Linked DNA regions of Homo sapiens: region 2 is linked to region 1. The links are contacts of gene promoters, found by promoter capture Hi-C in human tissues and cell types (Jung and others, 2019). All regions are on one chromosome and are shown on one strand. Each heading gives the region's core, a stretch centred on a gene start or on the middle of the fragment in contact. The rest is flanking DNA. Distances are from core to core; before and after follow the strand shown.

Region 1 (7,734 bases), core at 2,320-4,819:
TTTTTTTTTTGAGACAGAGTCTCGCTGTGTCACACAGGCTGGAGTGCAATGGTGTGATCTCAGCTTACTGCAACCTCCACCTCCTGTGTTCATGCAATTCTCCTGCCTCAGCAACCCAAGAAGCTGGGATTACTGGTGCCTGCCACCACGCCCGGCTAATTTTTTGTATTTTTAGTAGAGACGGGGTTTCACCATGTTGGCCAGGTTGGTCTTGAACCCCTGACCTCAGGCGATCCACTCGCCTTGGCCTCCCCAGCTGCTGGGATTATAGGCATGGGCCACCGCGCCTGGCCCCATTCTAATTTTTCACTTCATTGGATTACAGTTGCTGTTTTTGGTGGGACATGAGGTTTCACACCCAGTATAGGAGACCTGATAATCTTCCCATTTCCGTCTAAACCAGAGTCTCCAGCTCTCCCACTGTCTCAATTATTCCAAATGCTATTTGAAACCGTATGTATACTTTGTGATAAAGAGCATAATATAAGAGATGGAAAAGCTCAGGGTTATTTTGAAAGGATGGAAAGCCCAACTTTGAGGAAAAGGAGTAGAAAAAGGGGGAAAATGGAAGTACTTGGTTCTATTGTGTCTGGAATTCGTAGGTTCTTGGTCTCACTGACTTCAAGAATGAAGCCGTGGGCCCTCGCGGTGAGTGTTACAGCTCTTAAGGTAGCGCGTCTGGAGTTTGTTCCTTCTGATGCTCGGATGTGTTCGGAGTTTCTTCCTTCTGGTGGGTTTCTGGTCTCGCTGGCGCAGGAGTGAAGCTGCAGACCTTCACCGTGAGTGTTACAGCTATTAAGGCGGCATGAACCCAAACAGTGAAAGAACAAACCTTCCACGTTGTAGAAGGGGATCAAGCGGCTTGCCACTGCTGGCCCGGGCAGCCTGCTTTTATGCTCTTATCTGGCCCCACCCACATCCTGCTGATTGGTAGAGCCTAGTGGTCTGTTTTGACAGGGTGCTGATTGGTGCGTTTACAATCCCTGAGCTAGACACAAAGGTTCTCCAAGTCCCCACCAGATTAGCTAGACACAGAGTGTCCACACAAAGGTTCTCCAAGGCCCCACCAGAATAGCTAGATACAGAGTGTGGATTGGTGCATTCACAGACCCTGAGCTAGACACAGGGTGCTGATTGGTGTGTTTACAAACCTTGAGCTAGATACAGAGTGCTGATTGGTGTATTTACAATCCCCAAGCTAGACATAAAGGTTCTCCAAGGTCCCACCAGAGCAGCTAGATACAGAGTGTCGATTGGTGCATTCACAAACCCTGAGTTAGACTCAGGGTGCTGATTGGTGTATTTACAATCCCTGAGCTAGCCATAAAGGTTCTCCACGTCCCCATCAGACTCAGGAGCCCAGCTGGCTTCACCCAGTGGCTCCTGCACCGGGGCTGCAGGTGGAGCTGCCTGCCAGTCCCGCGCCGTGGGCCCGCACTCCTCAGCCCTTGGGTGGTCGGTGGGACTGGGCGCCGTGGAGCAGGGGGTGGCGCTCGTCGGGGAGGCTCGGGCAGCACAGGAGCCCACGGAGGGGGTGGGAGGCTCAGGCATGGCGGGCTGCAAGTCCCGAGCCCTGCCCCGCGGGAAGGCAGCTAAGGCCCGGTGAGAAATGGAGCGCAGCGCCGGTGGGCTAGCACTGCTGGGGGACCCAGTACACCCTCCGCAGCCGCTGGCCGGGGTGCTAAGCCCCTCATTGCCCGGGGCCGGCAGGGCCAGCTGGCTGCTCCCAGTGCGGGGCCCGCCAAGCCCACGCCCACCCGGAACTCCAGCTGGCCCGCAAGCGCCGTGCGCAGCCCGGGTTCCCGCTCGCGCCTCTCCCTCCACACCTGCCTGCAAGCTGAGGGAGCCGGCTTCGGCCTTGCCCAGCCCAGAAAGGAGCTCTCACAGTGCAGCGGTGGGCTGAAGGGCTCCTCAAGTGCCGCCAAAGTGGGAGCCCAGGCAGAGGAGGCGCCGAGAGCGAGCGAGGGCTGTGAGGACTGCCAGCACGCTGTCACCTCTCACTATGCAATGCTTTTCATAGGAACTCGGGAATGTTTGTGTTCTGGACAGGTAGGTTATGGAAAGAGCAGTGGACTCGGGGTCATCAGGACAGGTTCCAATTGTATCAGTGCTACTTATGAGTCAAGTCGACTTAGGAAAGTTATGTATCTCTCAGTTTTTTTGTTTGTTTTTCTTTTTTTTTGAGATGGAGTTTCGCTCTTGTTGCCCAGGCTGGGGTGCAGTGGCATGATCTGTGCTCACTGCAACCTCCCTCCCAGGTTCAAGCGATTCTCCTGCCTCAGCCCCCCAAGTAGCTGGGATTACAGGCGACTACCACCATGCCCGGCTAATTTTGTATTTTTAGTAGAGATGGGGTTTCACTATGTTGGCCAAGCTGGTCTCAAACTCCTGACCTCAAGTGATCCATCCACCTCAGCCTTTCAGAGTGCTGGGATTACAGGCATGAACCACCATACCTGGCCCATATCTCTCAGTTTTGATTCCTTATCCTTAAAATGGGAATATCGTGGTGTTTGGGGGGAAATTGAATGAAAAAAAAAGATATGCAAGCATGGCACCCCCAAAAAACTCATTAAGTCTAACTTGGTTTTGAGAGAACTTCACAGTGACCATGGAACATGTGCTTTTAATATTCGGGCGGCAGCTAATATTGTTACTTTTGAGTATGTGCACATGTATTTCTGTGTTTATCGTAATATTGATGTTAGCCACAACATTTATAGAGCATTGACTGTGTTGGGTGATCAAACTATCCCAGTTTGCCCAGGACTGAGATTGCTCCCAGGATGCAGGACTTAGTGTTAAAATGGGGAAAAACTGGGCTGGGCGCAGTGGCTCACACCTGTAATCCCACACTTTGGGAGGCCGAGGTGGGCGGATCACGAGGTCAGGAGATTGAGACCATCCTGGCTAACACGGTGAAACCCCGTCTCTACTAAAAATACAAAAAATTAGCTGGGCGCACTGGTGGGAGGCTGAGGCAGGAGAATGGTGTGAACCCGGGAGGCAGAGCTTGCAGTGAGCTGAGATCACGCCACTGCACTGCAGCCTGGGCAACAGAGCAAGACTCTGTCTCAAAAAAAAAAAAAAAAACGGGGAAAAACTGGGAAAATATCAGTTATCCTTCTACTATATGCAAATCGCTCTGTACACGTTATCCCGTTAACCCTTCAAAGCAACCCTATGAAGTAGGGACTCACATTATTGCCATTTTACAGACGGAAAGGACACTTGGAGAGATTAAACAACTTGCCAAGCCACACAGCTAATTAATGAGAAGAGTAGGATCTGAAGTATGACCTGTCCAATTGTAGATCCCAAGAACTTAACCACCATACTCTGTGCTTTTCGACGTCTCCAAAGGTCTTTTATTGCTGTTGCCTCTGTTATTCCTGGAACATTGCTAAACACCTTCCCATGTTCCCTTCTGTCACCAACACTTCCTGCTGCCCACCTGGGCCTCCAGCAAAGGGAGACACCAGCTCACAGAGCTAGGTCATGCCCAGTCTTGTATGTAGGCACCGCAGAGGCCCCTCCTTCCCTTAGCAACAGACGCTGAGACATGGTTACTGTGCCCAGCGCCTGCATACAAGCACTGCCAGTGTTAAGAGTCCAGGGAGGAGGAGGGAGAACAGTTCGGGCTGCCAGGATGTTGTTTGGAGGGGTGAGTCTCCCTCTTCTCTGTATTAATGTGTAACTCTGCTTCAGTCTTTCCTCTGCAGTGAACTCAGTGTGTTTCTGGAAAATTTCCAAGAGAGAAGCACTCAAGGGAAAGGAAGCGTGGCCACCGCTGGGGGACTAGGAACCAGAGCCAAAAGCGCAGCAGAAACCCAGTGCTGTCCCCTTATCTCTAGCTTCCCTTTCTCTCCTTTTTTACCAGGGAACTCCTCAGCGGGCCAAAGTCTATGACCTCAGAGAGGCAACCTCATGAACAGAGCTTTCAGAACATCTGGAAAGTTCCATTGTTGGTGTCATCCCCATTATGCTATAAGGAAGTGTGAATTTCAGACCAACTGGATAGGAGAGGCACATCCCTGGAGAAGCTGAAAGCTCTTTATTCATTTTAAAAAAATAGCTACAATTAGAGTGGACACCATGGGTGACATGGATTGCTCATCTCAGAAGGTAGGTGTGAATTTTAAGACGTTTCTTGTTTTACCTGTATTTTTTTTTTTTATTTTTTATTTTGAGACAGAGTTTTGCTCTTTGTTGCCCAGGCTGGAGTGCAATGGTGTGATCTCGGCTCACTGCAACCTCCGCCTCCTGGGTTCAAGTGATTCTCCTGCCTCAGCCTCCTGAGTAGCTGGGATTACAGGCATGTGCCACCACACCTGGCTAATTTTGTATTTTTAGTGGAGACAGGGTTTATCCATGTTGGTCAGGCTGGTCTTGAACTCCCGATCTCAGGAGATCCGCCTGCCTCAGCCTCCCAAAGTGCTGGGATTACAGGTGTGAGCCACCGTGTCTGGCCGATTTACCTGTATTTTTAATGTGTTGGGAATATGTGGGAAGAGGGCCAATTGGCATGTTAGATGCCCTTGACTGAACAAGTGTATTCATCACATTTTTTTGTTGTCTGCTTTGAAATATCATTTTTGCTGAATTAGACTTTTGGAAATCTTCAAGTTTTGCTGTGAAAAATCCGGGAATAGACACCCGTTCTTCCCTTTCCTTCCCTTCCAAGCCCATTAGACCATATATTCCAACCATCAGTTTTTGACTGTGGCTGAACATTAGAATATTCTGGGGAGCATCTTAAAAACATAGAGTCTTGGTCCCCCACTCCTAGATTCCGATCCAGAAGATTTGGAGTGGGGCCCTGGAATCTATATTTTTATCTAAGACCAGAGTGATTCTGGTGTAGCACGTCCTCAGACGAGCATTTGGGAATGGCCTCCATGAAGAACATACATACAACATGTGTAATCAGCAATAAGCTGCCCAAAGTGACAGTTCTACCCAATCTAAGTTCCAGAATTTCTGTTGTATCTGTGTTGAATCACCAGGTTGCCATACAGCGAAGTGCCCAGAGGAGCATTTTAAATAGAAACTTTGTAAAACTAAAGTGGATTTGTAGATAATAACTAAGCCAATATGCTCTGAAGTGAAAGCTCCTTGAAATTTACCAAAGAGAAGATTTAAGCATTAATTTCTTTCTTTCTTTTTCTTTCTTTCTTTTTTTTTTTTTGAGACAGTTTGTCTCTGTTATCCAGGCTGGAGTGCAGTGGCGTGATCTTCACTCACTGAAGCGTCTGCTTTCTGGGTTCAAGCGATTCTCCTGCCTCAGTCTCCTGAGTAGCTGGAACTACAGGTGTGCGCCACCGCCTGGCTAATTTTTGTATTTTTAGTAGAGACGGGATTTCTCCATGTTGGCCAGGCTGGTCTCGAACTCCTGGCCTCAAGTGATCCACCCGCCTCGGCCTCCCAAAGTGCTGGGATTATAGACATTAGCTACCACGGCTGGCCAAGCATTCATATTTTTAACAAACAATTTTGCACAACCAGCTAGTTCTTATGAGAATCTCGATCTCTTGAAGGTGCCACAGAGGATTCTTAGCCATTTATTGCCAGGAAAACTCTTTTAGCCCCATTCTGCAATTGATGCCTAGATCTGCTCATGTTGTGTGTGCCCCATGTGTTCCTGATCGACAGACTGGGATGCTTTCTGCTATCAGCGTACTTATGACTGTTTGTGTATTTGTTTTAGTCCAAGCCTATGACATAGCCTAGTTTAATTTGTTTCTACAGAGGTTCTCCCTCTTTCCATTGTGTTCTGCAAAATGCTCACGGTTTGCTTTCTTCATTATCCCGAGAACAGCGTCCCTGTCAGTTTGCATGATGCAGTAAGGAAGCTGAGGCAGGAGAATCGCTCGAACCTAGGGGGTGGAGGTTGCAGTTGTAGTGAGCCAAGATTGTGTCACTGCACTCCAGCCTGGGCGACAGAGCGAAAACTTGGACTCAAAAAAAAAAAATAAATAATAATAATAATAATAAATAAGTCACTGACTTAGAAGTCAAGCCGGCCAATTACATGGCTAGGATGTGTTACCTATCTTCTCACCCTCATTTTCTTCAGCTAGAATGCGGGTATGAAAAAAATCTCATGAGGTTGTACAGTACCTGGCACATAATCGTTTGGAATAATGGTAGATAGTATTGCTGCGGTTGTTGTTTTTCTGTTGTTATTTAATGAGGTAGGTGCTCCGGGAGAGATAATGATGGTTAATTTGAGTCATCTTTAAGGGGTTGGGGGCAGAGGGACAGCTAATAGTCATATGCCCCCTGCCCCATCCCACCCTCATCAGTGATCTTGCATGTCATAATTTGCACACCCAAATAAATCACACTGATACGATGTTGGCTCATCTTATATAGGAGTTAAGTCCAAAGTCAATGCCTAAGGTGAAAATCACAGAGAGTCAAAATTGCCCTTGAAAATCCCTCAAACCACCTTTAAAGTGCTGAACGGCAGCACCTCTCAATAAGTCCAGGCCAACAGCTTTTCTTCTAGTGTTGGAACAAGTTGCAGTTTCTCCATCACTAGTCCCAGGTGAAGTGGTTGTTTTGCATATAGGGGCTAAGTCTTAAGACAAAAACACATGTGATTTCATTCAATAATGTAGTCACTTTCTTCTCTGCTCAGGAGAGGTGGAGGGTCACTTGGAATCTGAGAGTGATTGTGGGAGCCACAAGTTGACCCTTACCTGAGGCTCACTCCACAGTATGCACTCACTGGTTGGAATGGAGTACTCAACACCCACATTGTTGAAATAACACTTTTTCTTTTCGCAGGAATCATAAAGAGTTGCTTATGTGTGTGTTAAATACACAGAAAATTCAGTGCCACTGCCTGAGTGAATTTCTCTTTGGAATTTTGCACATGTGAAAATGCAAGAGTCCACCTGGTGGAGTGGCTTATGCCTGTAATCCGAGCACTTTGGAAGGTCGAAGCAGGTGGATCACCTGAGGTCAGGAGTTCAAGACCAGCCTGACCAATGTGGTGAAACCCCGTCTCTACTAAAAATATGAAAATTAGCCAGGCATGGTGGTGGGCACCCATCCAGCTTCTTGGGAGGCTGAGGCAGGAGGATTGCTTGAACCTGGGAAGCAGCAGTTGCAGTGAGCTAAGATCGTACCATTGCACTCTAGCCTGGGTGACAGAGTGAGAGACTATCTCAAAAAAAAAAAAATGCAAGAGTCAATGTTTTTAAAGTCACCTCCTTTAATCATACCTGAGGGTAGGGTACTGGGGATGTCCTCAGAATTTGGGCTCTTCCACGGGGGAAAAATATTCAAATTTGCTCATAGAAGGGAATCCGAGGAGGAGACACTGAATGATTAAAAAATGAAGCAGGGGCCGGGCGTGGTGGCTCATGCCTGTAATCCCAGAACTTTGGGAGGCCGAGGAGGGCAGATCACTTGAGGCCAGGAGTTCAAGACCAGCCTGGCCAACATGATGAAACCCCGTCTCTACTAAAAATATAAAATTAGCTGGGCATGGTGGCAGTCACCTGTAATCCCAGCTACTTGGGAGGCTGAGGGAGGAGAATCACTTGACCCCCGGAGGCAGAGGTTGCATTGAGCTGAGATAGAGCCACTGCACTCCAGCCTGGGTGACAGAGCAAGACTCCATCTCAAAAAAAAAAAGAAAGAAAGAAAAAAGAAACAGGAGTGGAAGGGTTGGGGAGATGGTCATAGGATATAAAATTTCAGTTAGATGGAATAAGTTCAAGA
Region 2 (7,734 bases), core at 1,526-4,025, 140 kb before region 1:
GGCACATGTATACCTATGTAATAAACCTGCACATTCTGCACATGTATCCCGGAACTTAAAGTAAATTTAAAAAAATAATAATAATTTGCGAATAAATTCTGCTCCGCACCCTCCAGAGCCAGGGAAAACGGTCCAAAACTGGGACTGCAGACTACTCCTGCTTCAAGACCACGACCACTCCTGTGCCAGGGAGGGAGAGGGGCAAGGGCGTGTAAAATCATCACAAAACTATCCACTGTTTTGAAGTGACTTTTTTATTGGTTCAGTATTCATTTGGTTGCTATAAACTTTTGATTGTTTTCCATAGTCCTGACAAAATTGGTTCAGACAGTTTCTGCTAATTTTTGAAGCTTTTGTGAGATGGTAATGAGAAGTTATGCGTATTCTACCTTTTTGCTGACAAATTGTTCTCCAGTTTCCCGTATATTGATACTTAGTTACTATTTCCCTCTGCTTTGTGGTTAGTTTCCTTTGGCAGGTGAGGGACAGGAATTTTCATCAATTGAAGTATTTTGATATTCTTCTGTTTCCTTCTTATGGCATATTAAATTGATTATCTGAACCAACAATAACAAGTGATTTAATGGATGAATGGTAATATTTTGATTAGTTTGTAAGCTTCTTAGTACATATTCATCTTCTTCTATTAATACAGTGAAGTGCAGTTTCTTTAACAAATAGAACTTTTTCTAAGGGAATGAAGCGACTCAATTCTGTGATTCTTGCTAATATCTGTATGAAGTTAAATTATGCTGGACATGTCCTTATTTCTCTTTGCTACCCTAATTCTAAAGGGCACTTCTATTTTCTAAGTTGCTTCTCTCTAACCTCCAAATTAATATCTCTCAAGATTAACATTTATAGCTTTGCACATTTTCAAGCCTCTTTATTTATTTCCCCCTATAACCAGGATTTTGATTGACTAGGTCTAGTTCTCAGAGATTTTTTTCAGTATTTCCCAGCTCATGATGGATCTACCGCTGTTGCCACTGTGTTCCGTATTCTCTTTTCTGCAGAATCCTCACCTGCTCTCTATGAGAGATTCCCTTGTTCACTGTCTCCTGTAGCACTCAGATTTGCTTTTCCCTTGGTGCATCCAAAGTGGGTGTTTCAATCTACGCTGTCTTTTAGAATGCACAGTTTTCACAACCTTCTTCCTACTGGGATAGAGTTAAGAGGTTATAGGGATTTTATTTGTCTGTTTGCTAGGTATCAAATAATCACAAGCTTTTACAGGTTAGGGCCATGACCACTAATTGAAATGACTATCCTTTCTCATTTGAATTACTTTGGCACCTCATCTGAAATCAACTGACTATACATGTATGAATCTATTTTTGGACTCTGTATCTTATTCTATCTATCTATCTATCTATCTATCTATCTTCTATCTACTTACCTATCCATCTATTCATTCATCCATCCATCCGTTCATCCATCAATCCATCCATCCATCCATCCATGCATTTATCTTCTCTGTCTCTACTCATGCTAATACCACACTGTCTTAATTATCGTAGTTTTATAATAAGGTTTCAAATAAGTTGGTGCAAAGTCTTGCAATTAAAAAAGTATAGTTTGGGATAATAAAGTTCTTTTGAATCCAAAATCAATTGGCCATACATGTGTGAATCTATTTTTGAACTCTGTATCTTATTCTATCTATCTATCTATCCATCCATCCATCTGTCATCTATGTCTCTACTTATGTTAATACCACATTGTCTTAATTACTGTAGTTTTATAATAAGTTTTAAAATGAGTTGTCACAAAATCTTGCAATTAAGAAAATATATATTTTTGGATAATGAAGTTCTTTTGAATTTCCATATAAATTTTAGAATCAGCTAAATTTCTACCAAAAATAAAAAGCCTCTAGGATGTTGATTGAGATTGTTTTGAGCGTATAAATCAATTTGGGGACAATTGACAATTTAAAAATATTGAGTCTTCTGATCCATGAATAAGGTATATTTCTCCATTATCTCAAGTCATCTTTAATTTTTCTCAGCAATGTTTTCAGTCTTCAGTGTACAGGTACTGCACATCTTTTTTAAAATTTTCCCTAAATGTTTTATGTATTTCATGCTACCACAATGGTATTGCCTTGAAAATGATATTAGCAATAGATATTTCTAGATTTCCTTACTCAAAGTGAAGATGTTTCATTCTAGTCCTCCTTTGCTGAAAAGTCTCTTTTTTGGTAGATCATTCATTTTTATTGCTGAGGGTATTCCATTGTATGAATAATTCACAGTTTGATTACCCATTCACATGTTGATGGACATTGGGTTATTTTCAATTTTTGGCCTTTATAATTAAAGCTATTTATGAATGTTTGCATACAAGTGTTTCTATGTTCATATGCTTTCATTTCTCTTAAGTAAAACTTCTAGAAGAAGACATCCAATCAAGCTTTTGTGACTCTGTATTGGGCAAAGTTTTTTAGATATAGCACTAAAAGCACAATTCACTAAAAAATGATAAATTTAACTTCACCACAATTAAAAACGTTTGGTTCTTAAAAGATGCTTTGAAAAAAATAAAAGGCCATAGTCTGGGACAAAATATTTGCAAATGGCTTACTACACAAAGGGCTGATATTCAGAACGTACAAAGAATTCTCAAAACCCAATAGTAAGAAAAAAGACCAATTCAACAATAAATGAAAGAAAAGTTCACCGGTCACTTCACCAAAGATGATACACATGTGGCAAATAAGCACATGCAAAGATGTTGAGAAGTTTCATCATAAAAGGGTGTTAAATTTTTTCAAGTGCTTTCCCCTCTATTGAGATTAATGTATAATACAATATAGATACTAATCACAGAGATTCTTTCCCACAGAGAAAATGCATTATGCACATAAGCTTTGAATCTTAGTGCTATCTTGTACAAATTTTGTGGTGTTGAGCAAGTTTTTACATTGTGTAAGGTTTAGTTTTTTCAAAATGAGGATAACATATAACTTGAGTTATTGTCAAGATTCACAGTAATGTAGGTAGAATTATTCACATGTAATAAGTAATTGACTACCAGTAGCTCTGATGAGATTTGTAGAGCCTCAGATACTCACTTTCTGTACTGTAATTTATGGAGTTAGGAATACTTTTCAACAGGAACACAACATATTCACCTCTTGGATATCATAGTATTTGCTGATGCTCATCCCAAGGTTATAAATGGGTACCAGCAGGAATGAATCAAGCAGAAAGTTTTTAAAAGTATTATTCCAATCTGCAATGAAAAAGATAATGTTAGCATGCTTTATATGAAATGAACTGTCCCAGGATAACAAAAGTCTCCCAAGTTGATAAAATTAAACAGAGAAAATTAAAAGCTGTAACATTATTCTCACAAACCCTCCGTTTTTAGCATAAAGTATACTACCCCTGATTTCTTGAAACATAGTTTGTGTTGATAATTACAGCTTTGGAAAATCCTTTTGGGAAAGCTGATGTCCATATCATCTGTCTTCCTGTCATCTCATGCGAACAAGAAACCAATGCTGATTATTTCTCATACCGTTTATTTTATATAACCAATGAAAAAGCAAAGATGTGATAGGAAATGTAGCCTAGGACTCAACAGTGGAAAGAGGATAAGGAATATATCATCAGTTGAAAGGACATACATCCTCAGAGAAACAAACTTGATGCTGAGATTCCTCTAAATACTAAATTAAATATGTATAACAGTTTATGAATATATATGAGTAAATAAGAAACATGTTTAAGAGGTAAGGCTCTGAACTGTCACTGTAAGACTTCAAGACTGAGTTCAAATTACTGGAAAAAAAGATGAAATTATAAGTCTGAGCAAAAAGCATATTTGTAAGATGCTTTTGTGGCCAGAATTGGTTCCCTCCCGTGGGTTCTTGGTCTCGCTGACTTCAAGAAAGAAGCCACGGACCCTTGCGGTGAGTGTTACAATTCTTAAAGATGGTGTGTCCAGAGTTGTTCCTTCAGATGTTCAGATGTGTCCCGAGTTTCTTCCTTCCAGTGGGTTTGTGGTCTTGCTGACCTCAGGAGAGAAGCTGCAGACCTTTGTAGTGAGTGTTACAGCTCTTAAAGGTGGCACATCCAGGTTGTTTGTCCCTCCCGGTGGGTTCGTGGTCTCACTGACTTAAGGAATGAAGCCTACAACCTTCGTGGTTAGTGTTACAGTTCACAAAGGTAGTGTGGACCCAAACAGTGAGCAGCAGCAAGACTTATTGTGAACAGCAAAAGAAAAAAGTTCCCACAGCATGGAAGGGGATCCGACATTGCCACTGCTGGCTCTGGTGGCCAGCTTTTATTCCCTTATTTGGCCCCACCCACATCCTGCTGATTGGTCCATTTTACAGAACACTGATTGGTCCATTTTACAGAGTGCTGATTGGTCCATTTTACAGAGTGCTGATTGGTCCATTTTACAGAGTGCTGATTGGTCCATTTACAATCCTTTAGCTAGACACAGAGTGCTGATTGGTGCAATTTTACAGAGTGCTGATTGGTGTGTTTACAATCCTTTAGCTAGACACAAAAGTTCTCCAAGTCCCCACTCCACCCAGAAGCCCAGCTGGCAATCAGTACTCTGTAAAATGGACCAATCGGCACTCTGTAAATGGGCCAATCAGCGCTCTGTAAAATGGGCCAATCAGCAGGATGTGGGCAGGGCCAAATAAGGGAATAAAAGCCGGGCACCTGTGCCAGCAGCCCAGCTGGCTTCAACTCTCACTTTGACAGAAGAGAGGGTGTCACCTGAGTGAGGAGGTAGAGGGTAAGTTTGCACCTAATATGTAAATTCTTATGACATTCTTATGACAAAATGGTAGAAGTATGTCTTTCCCTATCAGTGATTACATTAAATATAAATAGATTACTGCTCCAATTAAAGGATAGAGATTGGCAGAATGGATTTTAACAAGCATGATCCAACCATATGCTACCTACAACAGATTCAATTTAAATTTAAAGGCACAAATAAAAGTTTAAAAGACAGAAAAATATATTCAATGCAAACGGTAACCAAAAGAGAGCTGGAATGATTCTACTAATGTCAGACAAAATAGGCTTTAAGATAAAAACGGTTATAAGAGATGAAGGACATTATATACTATTAAATGGGTTAATTCATGAAGAAGATACAACAGTAACAAACATATATGGTCCTAACAACACAGCCCTAAAATATATGAAGCAAAAACTGACAGATTTAAGGGCTTTCAACAATAGTAGTTGGAGATGTCAATACCCCACTTTAAATAATTATAGAACAACTACATTGATCAAACAAATATAAGATATGAACAACAAAATAAACCACCTGACCTAAAGGTATATATAAAATACTCTACCCAACAATAACAAAATACACATTTTTTTCTCAAGTGTACATAAAAAAATTATCCAGGACAGACCATTAATTAGGCCACAAAACAAGTCTTAATAAATTATAAAAAACTGAAATAATATGAAGCATCTTATTATGACTGCAATGGAACAAAATTAGAAATCAGTAACAGAAGGAAATCTGAAAATACACAAATATGTGTAAATTAGACAATACAAACTTAAGCAACAAATGAGTCAGATAAAAAATCATAAGGGAAATTAGAAAATACTTTGACATGAATGAAAACAAAAATATGGTATACCAAAACTTATAAGAAAAGCAGTTTAGTTTTTTCACATTTATTCTTACATTTAAAACTATTTCAAATAAATAATCTAGTCTTCCACCTTAAAAACTGGAAAAAGAAGAGCAAACCAAACCCAAAGCCGGTGGAAGGCAGGAAATAATAAAGACTAAAACAGAGATAAATAGAGAATGTAAAAACAACAGGCCAGGGAAAATATACAATCCCTTTAAAGAATCAACACAAATCAAAGACCTTTATATTGACTGACCAAAATAAGAAAGAAGCCTCAAATTATTAAAATCAGGAAACTAAGAGAAGACATTACTACCAATCTTACAAAAATTAAAAAACATTACAAGAGAATACTATGAACAAATGTAGGGCAATTGATAACCTAGATGAAAAGGACACAATTCATAACCTAGATGAAAAGGACACATTTCTAGAAACACACAAACTACAAAACTAACTCAAGAACAAGTAAAATATCTGAATAGACCTATAATAAGATATTTAATTAGTAACTAAAAACCTCTCAGCAAAGAAAAGGTTGGGATAAGATGGCTTCAATGGTGAATTCCACCAAACATCTAAAGAATAATTTACATTGGTCCTCCTGTTTGGTTTTTAAATAAACAACCAATTGTCCTATTCTCTGACACCCCAACTGGGTGTCCTACAATTGAATTCAATTCTAGCACTACAAAGTATTTTCGAATTTCCCTTGTGATTTTTTATTTGACTCATTTGTTGCTTAAGCTTATAAGTTAGCACAGACTCCATGGGTTAAAGAACCAATCCCACAAGATTGCACCCGCTTTAGACACAGCCACAAATAGGGAATACAGGGTACCTGCACTTCTGCCTGGATAACTACAAATGTTAGGACTCCCACAATTGTTCCTCTGGTTTGATAATGTGCTAAAAACAACTCACAGAACTAAGGAAAGTGCTACATTTACAATTACAGTTTATTACAAAAGAACAGGCAAATGAAGAAGTGCACAGGGCAAGGGGCATGGGACACAGAGCTTCTGTGCCCTCTCCAGTGTGCCACCCTCCCAGCACACCGATGGGTTCACCAACCCAGAAGCTCTCCAGATCTCATTGTTCAAGAGTTTGTATCAAGACTTCATTATGTAATCATGATTGGTTAAAGCAATGGCCTTTGGTGACTGAACTCAATCTCCTGTCTCCTTCCCTCCTGGAGATCAGGGGTGAGGATGTGGGCTGAAAGTTTCAATCCTCATCACATGGTTGATTCCTCTGGCAACCAGCACCTATCCTCAAGCTATCTAAGGGCCTTCCTGGGGTCACTTTATTAGCATAAACTCACGTATGGTCAAGTTTTGAATAAGAAAAGATATTCCATTCATTCCAGAAATTCCAAGGACTGTGGGAGCTCTGTGCCAGGAACAAGGGATGAAGACCAAATACATATTTCTGTTATATCATACCTTCTCAAACTCTACCAAAAAATAGGTCTTATGGTTGTTTGGAAAACAATTTCCTCTCTAACAAAGAGTAAAGGCTTTTCTATTTGAAATCTTTGAATTATCACTTTGAGTAAATGAATGACTATTATTTTACAGTGACCAGTGATTCTATTTTGATGAAGTGTTTTAAGCCTTTAGTATTTGACATACTTCCAAAAATCAAATTTCAAATTCTAAAATTAAGTATTTTCCTTTTTTTTTTTTTTGAGACGGAGTCTCGCTCTGTCGCCCAGGCTGGAGTGCAGTGGCGTGATCTTGGCTCACTGCAAACTCCGCCTCCTGGGTTCACGCCATTCTCCTGCCTCAGCCTCCCTAGTAGCTGGGACTACAGGCGCCCACCACCACGCCCAGCTAATTTTTTGTATTTTTAGTAGAGATGGGGTTTCACCGTGTTAGCCAGGATGGTCTCCATCTCCTGACCTCATGATCCACCCGCCTTGGCCTCCCAAAGTGCTGGGATTACAGGAGTGAGCCACTGCGCCCGGCCTAAAATTAAGTATCTTCCAAAAGGAACTCCTAGATGTCCAAGAGAGACATAGTAGGCTTATTTAATATGTTAAAATTATATAGGAAACACTGGCAAATAAGAAATGGTGCTTGACTTTCTTTGAGTCA

What was found. The method cuts DNA at HindIII sites, captures the fragments that hold promoters and counts their contacts. A contact is called where the count stands out against the background at its distance.
Region 2: a contact is called between a fragment that was not itself captured here and the fragment with the promoter of DNAH3 in region 1, in 4 of the 25 tissues and cell types used here (aorta, liver, lymphoblastoid cells and 1 more).

What each region holds. Positions count from the first base shown.
Region 1 is chr16:21,146,681-21,154,414 of GRCh38, reverse strand. It overlaps DNAH3 (dynein axonemal heavy chain 3), which reads left to right and starts at 3,569. Exons shown (of 62, transcript NM_001347886.2): 1 at 3,569-3,664; 2 at 3,881-4,125. The coding sequence starts at 4,096. RefSeq lists an enhancer at 1,113-1,407. The HindIII fragment of the contact is 16,051 bases long and covers 1-7,734 here.
Region 2 is chr16:21,286,681-21,294,414 of GRCh38, reverse strand. LOC105371125 (a long non-coding RNA gene) reads right to left here and starts at 3,945. Exons shown (of 3, transcript XR_950905.3): 1 at 3,913-3,945; 2 at 3,077-3,237; 3 at 456-1,160. It also overlaps a transcript of CRYM not described here. The HindIII fragment of the contact is 3,703 bases long and covers 924-4,626 here.